2 separate regions of the Homo sapiens genome follow, and region 2 is linked to region 1. The links are contacts of gene promoters, found by promoter capture Hi-C in human tissues and cell types (Jung and others, 2019). All regions are on one chromosome and are shown on one strand. Each heading gives the region's core, a stretch centred on a gene start or on the middle of the fragment in contact. The rest is flanking DNA. Distances are from core to core; before and after follow the strand shown.

Evidence for each region. The method cuts DNA at HindIII sites, captures the fragments that hold promoters and counts their contacts. A contact is called where the count stands out against the background at its distance.
Region 2: the fragment with the promoter of PNRC2 here is called in contact with the fragment with the promoter of RPL11 in region 1 in 1 of the 25 tissues and cell types used here (pancreas).

What each region holds. Positions count from the first base shown.
Region 1 is chr1:23,689,499-23,696,079 of GRCh38, reverse strand. It overlaps RPL11 (ribosomal protein L11), which reads right to left and starts at 4,274. Exons shown (of 6, transcript NM_000975.5): 1 at 4,251-4,274; 2 at 3,321-3,471; 3 at 2,167-2,273; 4 at 1,289-1,420; 5 at 172-282. The coding sequence starts at 4,256. RefSeq lists an enhancer at 3,993-4,312. The HindIII fragment of the contact is 10,512 bases long and covers 821-6,581 here.
Region 2 is chr1:23,956,602-23,963,182 of GRCh38, reverse strand. It overlaps PNRC2 (proline rich nuclear receptor coactivator 2), which reads right to left and starts at 3,355. Exons shown (of 3, transcript NM_017761.4): 1 at 3,185-3,355; 2 at 2,049-2,254; 3 at 1-1,743. The coding sequence starts at 1,725. The coding sequence ends at 1,306. It overlaps LOC124903877 (a long non-coding RNA gene), which reads left to right and starts at 5,069. Exons shown (of 4, transcript XR_007065541.1): 1 at 5,069-5,081. RefSeq lists enhancers at 3,089-3,358, 4,259-4,318, 4,497-5,125 and silencers at 3,559-3,668, 4,079-4,178. The HindIII fragment of the contact is 7,308 bases long and covers 1,390-6,581 here.

The DNA.
Region 1 (6,581 bases), core at 3,025-5,524:
GGATGTTCTTTTAAACCATCATCCCTGGAAGCCCCTGATTTGTCAAGATGCCCAATATTCTAACTTTAAAGAAGATACCCAGCAAATAGTACTATATTTTGCATCCCCAAATCCCAACTCCATTCACCAACATCACATTCCACCACTTCACTTGAGATAAATCAGCTTTACCTTCTGCTGGAACCAGCGCATGGCCTCCTCTTTGCTGATTCTGTGTTTGGCCCCAATGCAGCCTGTCCTGCGCTTCTTGTCTGCGATGCTGAAACCTGGCCTACCCAGCACCTGTCCCAGGAATAACCAACAGTCACCTAGCCAGCTCAGAGTCAAGAGCAGATGGACAAGACTCACACATTACAGACAGATCTTCAAAGAGTCACTTGGCAGCCCAATGGATTCTGGAGCAAGACCCATGATCTGTGTCTGACAAAGCTGCCACCAGCATCCCACGCAACACACAGCCATACTGTAAGTTTGCTTTGGAGGCTGGAACTTTCAGCACCCCCCTAACCCAGCCTATTTTCCAGTGGTGCTGAGGATCCTCCATTACTGCTCCCAAATCTCCATTTTTCTTTTTAAAAGTAACATTTAAAAATCTATTGCCACACCAGCAGTGTAGAAAACATACAACTCTGAGAAGCACAAATATATATATTTTCTTCCTTCTGCTTCAGCTCAAAAATGCTTCCCAAAGGTGTGCTGTTCCTCCAACATCCTGTGAGTATCCAAGTCTTATTACTTGTCTGTCTAATGAGGGTGCCACCATCTTTCAGGTTCCACACTAGTCAGGACTTCTGATTTAGGCTATTCAGTTTTATTGTTGGACCAAAACACGGCAGTAACACAAAAGGTCATTTCTATGTTAAAACCCCCTTCCTGAGCAAACCACTGCATCACCCAAAGCTGTTTCTATAGGAAGAACCAGGGGGAGAACAGCCTCAGTGCAGCCAACCAACCCATAGGCCAAATGTGGCACCAATACTGCCTCTCTCCAAAGTTTCAAATCACTGGCTGGAGGGAACAGTTTCCTTCATCCACCTTTAAGCCATGTGGGTGCTTTACAGATCCTCGACTGCAAGTTCCCCAACAGCAGGGATCTTGTCCACCTTGTTCAGAGCTGCACCCCTACATTTGCCACAAATGAGGCACATTTCCCCAAGGGGGAGGAGAACACAAAGGCAGACAATATTCAAAGCTGCAACTCAACATGTGAACACCAACATACCACATATGAAATAAAGATTCCCCTCTCCTCACAGACCAGGAGCGGGAAAAGATTAAATATTCATACCACATAGAAGTCCAGGCCGTAGATACCAATGCTTGGGTCATATTTGATACCCAGATCGATGTGTTCCTGGATCCCAAAACCAAAGTTTCCAGTATCTGAGAAGTTGTTTTTTCTTAACTCATACTCCCGCACCTGTGGAGAAAAATGCAGCAATAACATTCCTTGTCATCTTCAACTCCCTCCCACCCCCAAGTAACTATTAATAGCTCAGCCTGCAACATGCACCCCAGAGCAAACAGAAGTCAATGAAACTTGGCTGAGAACACAACCTGACTTCCTCACTATACCTCGACTATAGATTCACACCCCAACTACCCAGTATGACCTCTCCCAGCTTCCAAAGAGCAGAGAAAAACCCAGAGAAAGCAGAGGCATGAAATGACTCCCAAGCATCCTTTTTCTTTTTTTTTTTTGAGACAAGAGTCTCACTCTGTGGCCTAAGCTGGAGTGCAGTGGCACAATATCAGCTCACTGCAACCTCTACCTCCCAGGTTCTAGCAATTGTCGTGCCTCAGCTTCCCGAGTAGCTGGGACTACAGGAGCCCGCCACCAAGCCCGGCTAATTTTTATCTTTTTTTAGTAGAGATGGTGTTTCACCATGTTGGCCAGGATGGTCTCGAACTCCTGGCCACAAATGATCCAACCGCCTTGGCCTCCCAAAGTGTTGGGATTACAGGCGTTGAGCCACCGTGCCCAGCCTCAAGCATCTTTTAAACCACCAAGAACAGTTTAACCCTGCTGATTGTAGAAAAAGCCTTTTAGAAGCTTAAGTAAATAAATATCAAGACACCAAAGAACAGAACATTAAATGTAACTTATCTACATGTGTTACTAAAGGAGTGCTGATCAATATCACTCCATTAGGGGATTAGGCTCACCTTTAGACCCTTCTCCAAGATTTCTTCTGCCTTGGCCCCTCGAACTGTGCAGTGGACAGCAATCTTTTCATTTCTCCGGATGCCAAAGGATCTGACAGTGTATCTAGCTGCAGGAAGTGGGTAACAAGGAGTCAGATGCCATCATACCCCCACTACACTCACCTCTTTCCCAGAACACCATCTCCATGACTTAAAGAGACATTAAGCATTCATCCACACTCTTTTAAGTTGTGGTGTTCTAATTAGTGTCTCCCACATCTATTAATAAGATTTCATCCACAGCACAGATTTTCCCATTTCCAGACATCCAGCCATCCTTCAGCAGTTAAGAACAGTCATAACGCCGAAGTTCCAGGAAGGGCAAGGTCACAACCAGAATAGGCCGAAGAAGCCACTAGTAAGATTATCATGTTCCAAAGAAAACAAAGCATTATTGACAACATCTACTATTTGCTGAAACCTTATTGTACTGTTATCCATATTTTACAGGTGAGGTTTTGAGAGGTTTATTAACTTGCCAAACATCACAGCTGGTAACAAAAAGCAGGAGTGGAATCCAAAGACTTGCCATATTTCACTGTCCTAAAGCAACTACACATGTACAACTCATTTTATCTTCCACAATTATAAAGTATTACCCTCTTTATGCAAAGAAAAAAGCAGAGGTCCAGAGAGCCCAGAGTCAGACCAGCAAATGGTGAAGCCATCACTCAAACCCAGGCAATCTGTATACAACTTTTGAGATAGGGTCAACCAGGCTGGAGTGCAGTGGCACTAATATAGGCCACTGAAGCCTCATGCTCCCGTACAGCCCTGTTCTTAATGCAGCCTATATAACCCTAACTGCTAATCAGATCTAATGATCTTTACTTCGTTCCTGACATTTCCACTCTATCTCATATCCTAGTTACTTAGGAAAATCTTTACTTGGGCTAGTCTTAGCTTAAGATCTGCTCAAATAAAATCTAGTGTTCCAATCCCACACGCCATCTTGAATAAAAAAAAAAAAAAAAGACACCTCTTGGCCGGCTCATGAATTTAATGCTTTAAGTGATGCCGACTGTCACTTTCTAAACAGACTCGACAGCAGGTAAATCAAGAAACAACCAAGCGACCCAAGCAGGCAAACCCTGTATGTCCTTGTGACTACTCACCTTTGGAAAACACAGGGGTCTGCCCTGTGAGCTGCTCCAACACCTTGGCTGCTCGCGTCAGTCTGTCTCCACTCTCCCCAACACAGATGTTGAGACAGAGTTTGCGGATGCGAAGTTCCCGCATGGGGTTCTCCTTTTCACCTTGATCCTGCTGCAACAGGGAAGAGCAGCAGTCAATACACTCACAGCTGAGGGCCCTGAGTTTTACTACTTTCTATCTGCACAGCATTTTTATTTCTGCTCATCCCAAATCGTAACGAAGACCCTGAATGTTTAAAAGGTATAATGTTTAGGGGACATCAAGGGAAGAAGACAGCTCGGAACCTATCCTTCCTCCACGAACGGAACGGGTGAAGAGAAAACTCAGGACAGTTATTGAGTGTTAAAAGATACGGACACTGAGATCGAACCCTAAGAGGCTCAGGGTAACAAAGAGCGCCCCCATTGTAAGGCCAACTAAGGGGAGTGAGCGAAGAAACAGAACTTAATTGCTCAGTTAACAGGAAACACGTGGTTATGCGACGTCCAGCATCCTATTCGGAAGCTGTCTAAAGGCTGGCACCTTCCCTAAGCGGAGCAACCGACTAAGGTTTCCTAGCACCGAGCAAGTCTCAAGTCCCCGGGACCAGGAAAAGGCCCGGACCCCCCTGCCTCAGAACCCTCCATTCACCCCATCTGCCCCCGCTGCAGCCTCCTGACCGTGCTTCTGAGCACTCCGGGCAAGTGCCCGGAGCCGCTCCTAAAACGATGGCAGGGAAAGTGACAGAATTCAACCCTGCGTCCTTGGCTCGAACGGCTCTGCTAGTTTTGGGCCAGCAGGCATTGCGGGCTCCATATTCCTCGGGCTGCGGGCGAAGTAGCCCCCGCAGGCTCGGCCTGCCATGGATGGCGACGGATAAAGGAAAGCAAATCCAGGTCCCAGCTACTCACCGCCATGATGGAGAGCAGGAAGAGAAAGCGGAGCTTCCGGCCGAGGGCCTTATGGGCCAGGAGGCGGGCTCTTTTCCCAGGCTAACCACAGAGATGAAGACGAGGAAGAGAGGCGCATTTGGCAAAGCCCTGCAGCGTCGGCTTCTCCCTTGTGGGTAGTGCTAGCCACTGCAGGCGACGCTGGCTGAAGACCGGGATCTGGGTTTTCCAAAAATAGTTTTTGAAAGCTCCCGAATCAGCACGTCCTTGAGTTTCCGGACCTTGAGGACGTTCTCTCCTCCCAGTGTCACGAGCTGGTGGTCCTTGTGTGATGAGAACGCCAAAACTACATTAAATCAATCATGCAAATTATGACGCAAATTTATTCTGTAACAACGTAAACAAATATAATTTATTTATTTATTTATTTTTTGAGACGGAGCCTCGCTGTGTCACCCAGGTTGAAGTGCAGTGGCGCGATATCGGCTCACTGCAACCTCCGCCTCCCGGGTTCAAGCGATTCTCCTGCCTCAGCCTCCCAAGTAGCTGGGATTACAGGCACGCACCACCATACCGGTCTAATTTGTTTGTATTTTTAGTAGAGATGGGGTTTCACCATGTTGGTCGGGCTGGTATGGAACTCCTGACCTCAAATGATCCACCCGCCTTGGCCTCCCAAAGTGCTGGGATTACAGGCGTGAGCCACCACTCCGGGCACAAATAGAATTTATACAAACGGAAAGGAGTGGTGGTTTAAGAGTCCCGAGCTTGAAGACAGGCAGATGTGGTCCTGTCTCGACCAGCTAGTAGCTATGTGACCTTGGGCAAGTTACTACAGGGTGCGTATTCCTAACCTGAAAAGCCTGGGACCAGACGGTTTTTAGATTTGGGATTTTTCCGGATTATGGAATATTCGCATAAACATAATGAGATATCTTGGGGATGGAACCCAAGTCTGAATATGAAATTAATTTATGTTCCATATACACCTTATACACATAGTCTGAAGGTAATTTTATACAATATTTTAAGTAAGTTTGTGCATGAAACAAAGTTTGTGTACATTGAACCATCAGAAAGCAAAGGTGTCACTATCTCAGCCACCCTTGTGGACAATCTCTGGTTGGTTGGCCTAACCATTTTTCCAGACTGTAAATGTATATGCTATTGATAAGCAATACTTTCTTACGCTTATTCACATATAAGTACTTAACAGCGGCCGGGCGCGGTGGCTCACGCCTGTAATCCCAGCACTTTGGGAGACCGAGACGGGCGGATCGCGAGGTCAGGAAATCGAGACCATCCTGGCTAACACGGTGAAACTCCGTCTCTACTAAAAATACAAAAAAAAAAAAAAAAAAAAATTAGCCGGGCGTGGTGGCGGGCGCCTGTAGTCCCAGCTACTCTGGAGGCTGAGGCAGGAGAATGGCGTGAACCTGGGAGGCGGAGCTTTCAGTGAGCCGAGGTCGCGCCACTGCACTCCAGCCTGGGTGACAGAGCGAGACTCCGTCTCAAAAATAAAAAATAAGTTCTTAACAGCAAAATATATGCTATGTCATTAATACAGTGAAAAAGTAATGTGTTCAGGGCAACTAAGCAGCAGAGGAGCATCACCAGAAAACCTGGATCAGCTGTGAAACAACAGCGACCCACCCCCCCTCCCCCCACCACCACACCCGACCCCGGCCCCGCCAACCAGGCCAGGTGCTGTGGCTCACACTTGTAATCCCAGCGCTTTGGGAGGCTAAGGCGGGTGGATCACTTAAGGTCAGGAGTTCGAGACCAGCCTGGCCAACGGGGTGAAACCCCGTCTCTACTAAAAATACAAAAATTAACCGGGCCTGGTGGTGCATGCCTGTAATCCGAGCTACTCGGAAGGCTGAGGCAGGAGAATCGCTTGAACCGAGGAGAAGAAGCTTGCAGTGAGCCAAGATCACACCACTGCACTCCAGCCTGGGTGATAGAGCAAGACCCTGTCTCAAAACAAACAAACGAACAAACAAAAAACAGCGACCACAAGTGGCAGGCTTTCAGTCTCCACCTATGATGCAGTGTTTTGATTAAAAGATTACTGTACAATGTATTTTTTTTTTTAATTTTTATTGATCATTCTTGGATGTTTCTCGCAGAGGGGGATTTGGCAGGGTCATAGGACAATAGTGGAGGGAAGGTCGGCAGATAAACAAGTGAACAAAGGTCTCTGGTTTTCCTAGGCAGAGGACCCTGCGGCCTTCCGCAGTGTTTGTGTCCCTGGGTACTTGAGATTAGGGAGTGGTGATGATTCTTAACGAGCATGCTGCCTTCAAGCATCTGTTTAGCAAAGCACGTCTTGCACCGCCCTTAATCCATTTA
Region 2 (6,581 bases), core at 2,106-4,605, 270 kb before region 1:
AAGTTGGCAAAACATGTTATCAATGTATTATGCAAGAGTTTACATCTTTTGCATAAGTGGTCCATTGGGTTGCACCTACCCCTTGACCAAACAAAAACAAAACATCACTGGCACCATACTCGAAACTACCTGTATCCTAGGTTATAAGATTGTGAAAGCCAACAATCTATAAGGTTGGAGGGACTCTAGTTAATCTTTGGGCTTAGAGGAGGAAAAAAAGATAGTCCCATACTGCATTTCACATCTCTTAAAAATAGTTTTAGCAGCTTAAACCTTTTTAGTTATAAAACTTATTACACTAGGGTTTACTTTGAAATATAGTTTACAACCAAATCAAGTATAACATACATACACTGGCACTTTAGCACAAGGGCAAACTTTAAAAACAAGTTATTTTGGACCTTTAAAATTAGGCCATATTATAAAAAACAGTCCACGGTCTTACATTCAGCAAATTCATACTAAAATACTCCATTTTTGTAAGATAAAGGCCAAGAAAACTTTACATATGCTACAAGTTTATTACAGATATTTACATGGCTCTTTCTCCCCTAGGTACTTAAAATTTTCACATTATCCAACTCCCCAAAGCAAGCTTTGCAGGAATGATGAGGCCAGAGCACTATTAGAATAGCTTGTGCAGTGCTGTAATACAAAAATGTATTTTGAAAGCTATTGAGTGACCATTAAATACTGTTTCTATAAAAAATGGTTTTGGTGTATTTGTTGACAGACACTTAATCCACTACATTTAATAAACAGGGCCATTGGGGTGTACTATGTCTCATTCTAATGAGCTCCAAATGCCCTTTCCACCCACTGTACAATTCACTAAAATGCAATTATTACGAAAAATTCACATTTTCTTTCAGCAGTGCATCAGGTTAGCATATTACTGGTTTGGGTGTTTCTAATATACTAAACCTTCAGATGTTTACCTAATTCTGAATCCTTGTGTTAGCTAGAAGCTTATAATCCGATTCACCAACTTTCAACAATCTACTGGTCCATGAATGATAAATTACTGTCTTCCCCTAACAATAGAAAAAGCTGATTCCTTTACCACTCCCCAAATCTAAACTTGGTTTCCACTTAAAAGTTACTCAGTTGAGAACACTTAATATCAAGTACAATCATTAGTTTAAGTTGCACTGATACTACCATTATATCACAGTGCACACAACACGAGATGGTCTATTTTTTTTACATTAATTAGTTCTACACAAATAGATTCCCTAGCGAATTTGTTTCAGACCAATTGACAACTATCCGTGAACATAACTAAATTTAAACATTTGTCTTATTTTATACCTGTACTTTAAGTAAGGTTTTAAGTTGAAATGTCATTATTTCCTTATCTGAAGGATTAAAGGAAACAGGGACCCAGTGGCTTGGTGGTTTGGGAAGAACACTTGGTGATGGCGGCTCACTAAATTTGGCACCAGCATAGTTCTGATTAGCTTGAGATTTAAAAAGTAACCTGGGACCTGATAAGCTAGAATTCCAACTTTGATTATTTGGAAAATTTTTGTTCTTCCCCCCATTTTGCATGGCCTGCCAGGCAGCTGCTGATGAGTTATAACCATGTCCTCTTTCTTTTTTCTTATGAACAATCTTCATCTGGGAATTCTGTTCCTTGGTCTTCTGTCTGTTAAGCTGTTGTTGGTTCTTACTAACATTTCTAGATTGAGGGGCTGGAATGTTATACCTCTCTCCACCACCCATCTTCAGCTTCTTTGTCACCTACAAGTGAATGGAAACAAATATTGAGTAAAATTCCATTAAGAAAAGTTCAAAATCTTTAAGAAGCTTCTATGGCTCCAACTTATAACTCCAGATATTTTGGACAAGACTCAATAACAGGCTATTCAGCTGCTTTAAACTCAAAAAAGCAAGCCGTTCAGACTTCAATATATGCACAACCTTTATTGTTATACCTTCCCTAAGAAAAATGAGCTTACCCACAAATCTACATAATCTATTTTAAAATAAAAACAATTGGTTTAGGATGGTTCCATCATAAAATGTTTGCCCATTATGATGATTACCTTTCAGTCTGCTTTTCAGATTGCAGGATCTCCACTACCTGTCCTCTTCCTTGCTGCCAAGCCCAAGATAACAAGTGTTGCTTTCTGACAGATCCCTTCCTTTGTCTCAATACAGAAGTTTTCATGGGCCGATCTGCTGAGTTCAGCCTAGGAGCTGAGGCCAACATCTGAGTCTCCTCAGCACACAAGTTTGAGAGAAGTCCTAGCTAGAAAAGTAAAGATTACTTCATTATTTCAAAAACACGTTGAGAAAGTGATCATTTAGATTTACTACGAAAATCGTTGACTGTAAAGAAGGCTACTTCCTGAACTAAAAGGTAGAAAATTTCTCGTAAGATGGCTTTCTTTGACCTTATAACCACGACCATTTAAAAAAACTCTTCACCCTTGAGATCCAGTCACTCCTGGGGAATTTTTGTAAGTGTCTCCAAGTCCCGCAATAAGTTTTATCTTTATCTTTTTCCTGGGAAAGACCTTCAGATTCTCTCGCGTATAAAATCAAGGAAGTGTTAAATGTTGAGTCATATCAAAAAATTGGCTTCAGGCGGATTTTCTAAAGAGACCGTGTTTTTAAACTCCCACCAGAATTTTCCAATCTTTCCACACATGTCACATCCATTTTCAGTCTCTTGGAACATGTAGACATCACGCAGTGTTTCCTTTGGTTATGAACGCTCTCGCCTCCTCCCCGTCTTAAAATAAGTTCTCACAAGCCCTAACAGTCTAAGCCCATCTTAAATATATAAAAATGTCTCCCTAGAGGGAACAGCTTAACTTTCAAGGTTTGGTTTTAATTTGATGTTCCAAGAAAATAAGTTACCAAATAGTTAAGCCCCCTCCTTTCAAAGGGGTAAGAGAGCTTTCCAAACAGATAAACAACCCTAAATAAATTGCCATTTCCGGACTGTGAGTAATTCCCAACTCGAACCCGGAAAACGCCTCCTCCGACGCCACAAGGGCTTGGCTTCCCAGTGGCCCCATCTCTCCGGAGCCGCAGGGGTCGCGGCGCTGCGACCGCCCGTGACCGCCCGCGCCCGCCCGGGTTACCCGGATCTCGCCTCCGCTCGCCTCCTTCCTCCAACAATGGGGAGCGCGGCCACCAACATGGCCGCGCCCTTAGCGCAGCCGCTACTTACTGACTTCAAGCTCGGAACTAACGCGGCAGCGGCTCCCTCTCGACGTCGAAGCCTCCCTCCCTTTCCAGGGAGAGACGAGGCACGGACCGACAAAGCCCACGAACACCGATGAGCGAGCTGCCGGCCACCCCAGCTTCTACAACCCGACCTTCTCCTTCTGCCTCTACCGACAAAATGGAGTCGGCAGCGACTGCAGAAGCAGGGCCGGGAGGCTCCGCGGCCAATCAAAACACGACAGCGCGGGCCTGGCCAATGAGAAGCGGGCCGCCGCCTGTTGCTGGGGCTGGCCGGGGGCGAAGGCGCGGAGGTGGGGCTGCAGAGGGTTTGAAATCTGCCCGGGGAGGAGGAGCATGCCGGGAGTAACTGCTCGGTCCACCGGTGTCTTAGTCCTTTCTCCGGCGGCCTCTCCGCGCCCCTGGCCCGCCGAGGCCCCGGCCGCTAGCTCTCGGCTCTTCCTACCGCTCGGCTCTCGTGCGCGCGGGCTCGCCGCCCTTGGGACTGCCCTGGGGGAAAAGACTGACCGGCGGGGGACGTTTGGTTCTCGAATTAGGGCCACTGAGTCCTGTAGCCTGTATTGACAGATGGAAGATACTCCGGAAAGCCTCTTGCCAGGGCGCAGCCCCCTCCCGCCTCGGGCCTCGGCTTCTGGGTCGCCTCTCTCCCACACCCACAACTCCGCGTCCGAAGCCGGCGCCTCCCCGCGGTTCCCTCCAGTGCCCCCACCCTCCAGCCCCGCAATTACTCAAAAGTTGCCTCCCTGTGAAGGCGGTTCAGACACACGCGGGCAAGTCAGTCACTTCCTGCTTGGTGGCCCCATTGGTCCTTAAGTTCAATTAGAGCCCTTTACGCGCCGTGTTACCGTTTCCTGTGGCTGCAGCTCTCCCCACCCACACACCCTCGAGGGCCACAACCGGTTAGGTTTTGTTTCTCTGAGCACAGCGCCTTCGCGCGTTGTAAGTGCACAGTAAGTTTGCTGAAAGAATGAGGACTGCTCTCCTCCCCTTTCTGCCCCACTTGTAAGTGAAAAAGGGGAAGAAAGAGAATATTGTTCAGTTGATTATGCCAGCCAGATGCAGGTAAGGGGAAAATGGCAATTTCTTTGGAGTAAATGTATAAGTAACCCAATGTGAATCTTTTAAAAGAGCACTAATTTCAATGAGCGTGAATAATTCTGGGCCAAACGGTACAAAATCAGTCTCATTCACAGTTTGTTCGTGTATACACATATATACCCAAGTTTACGTTACAGAATTTATATTTACCAACTTTTTATAAATCTCATGTAATTCGTTATTTTTGAGACGGAGTCTCCTTCTGTCGCCCAGGCTGGAGTGCAGTGGCACAATCTCGGCTCACTGCAACCTCCGCCTCCTGGGCTCAAGCGATTCTCCTGCCTCAGCCTCCTGAGTAGTTGGGATTACAGGCGCCTGCCACCACACCCTCCTAATTTTTGTATTTTTAGTAGAGACAGGATTTCATCATGTTGGCCAGGCTGGTCTCAAACTCCTAACCTCACGTGATCCGCCCGTCTCAGCCACTCAAAGTGCTGGGATTACAGGCGTGAGCCACCACACCCGGCCTGTATTTCGTTTTTTAATCTTCAATTTTTTGCCACCGTTATCCCCCACTTCCCAATCCAACCCAAATTCCTATATTCTAGCCATTGGATCTTAAGAAAAGTTACTGCATCTTACGGGATGCAGTTTGTTAATCTAATTTGATAAAAGAGGTATTTTTGAGCATAGGGACTTTCTGATGCTAATCATATTCAAATAAGAAGTATGTGGTAAACCAACAGGTGTCTTAGTGAAAGTGTAATCTGTTTTCCAAACATTCAAGAAGTTTGCTTAGACGTCTAGCCAGATAATAGCCAGCTGTATTTAATGAATTTTTAATGGTGTCACTTTAAAAAACAAAAAACAAACAAAAAAACACTTCCGTGGCTCCAAATTGTGATACGGAATAAAATCTAAACTCTAAACGTTTAGAAAATTATTCAAAGCCATTGCAGTCTAGAGTTAGTCTTTTCATGGCAGGGCATGGCTCACACCTGTAATCTCAGCAATTTGGGAGGCCGAGGCAGGAGGATCACTTGAGCGCGGGAGTTTGAGACCAGCCTGGGCAACATGGCAAAACCCCATCTCTACAAATAACAATTAGCTGGGCATGGTGGCACACGCCTGTAGTCCCAGCTACCTGAGAGACTAAGGTGGGAGAATCACCCGAGCCCAGGAAGTAGAGGCTGCAGTGAGCTGCGATCACAACACTGCACTCCTGGGTGAGAGTAAGACACTGTCTCAAAAAAAAAAAAAAAAAATTCATCTCTTCAGCCACTCTGAATTTTATCTGCATAAACGCACACATAACATTGGAAATGTATAAACCCACACAGAGTATCCTTACTCTGCCCCCTACCCTGTGCTAAATTTTTTTTTCTTACATCATTTCATTTAATCCTCACAATAATGTTGTGAGGTAGGAGCTGTTTTCATCCGCACTGTACAGATGAAGGCTCAGACGGTTTCGAGTTGAAAGCCAGGTACTAGGATTCAAGAGGCCAGGCTGCAGGTTGCCTGCAGCATCTGTGCTCTCCAGCACCTAAAAGGTTTTTTGCTCAGAGCAGACACTGACTGTTGACTGGGCTGCCGGGGCTGTTCGGGCAACAAGAAGCCTCCATCCTACCATCTGGCAGAACCAGTTTCTTTGCCAGAAGGTCAGAGTCGAGATGCCCTTGGGGAAAGCACTGTTAAAGCTTTTACTGCGTCCCAGACTCCCAGCACCCTCTCAGGCTAGCTCCAGCCTCATCATTCATTAGTATTTACCAAGTGCCCGCAACAGCTCAGAACTAGAGAGGAGAAGTTAAAATAATACCTTTTTTGGGACATCTGATACAGCCTCTGCCAGAACCATATGGTCTTTAAACTCAGCTCCACCAGCACAATCCTATTAGCAGTTCTCAATTCAAATAGGAAAATGTTGATGCCGACAAACAGCTCTCAGGATACAGCTCACCTAAACTGGAAGCCAAATGCATAATAAATACATGGATGTTTAATACAAAATATTTAGCAAAGATTTATCTGGTGCCTACTTTGTGCCAGGCACTATGCCACGCTCTGGGGATACAGCAGTGAAGGAGGCTCCATCCTGGCCCTAAAGGAACCCAAAAGCTGTTTCCTTTACAATTTACCAGAGAGGGAAACTAGTGTCTGGGAAGATTTATTCCCTCCCTTCTTCCCCTGAGAGTCAAGGACAGGCAAGGCCAAAATCAGCCTGCTAACCTCACTCAGGAGGTGCAGGTAACAAACATTGTTACTGGACCCTGCAAATAAAGTAGAAAAGGAGGGGGACTCTCACAACTTGCTGAAATTTTTTCACTGGAGGATCTGTTTTGAGC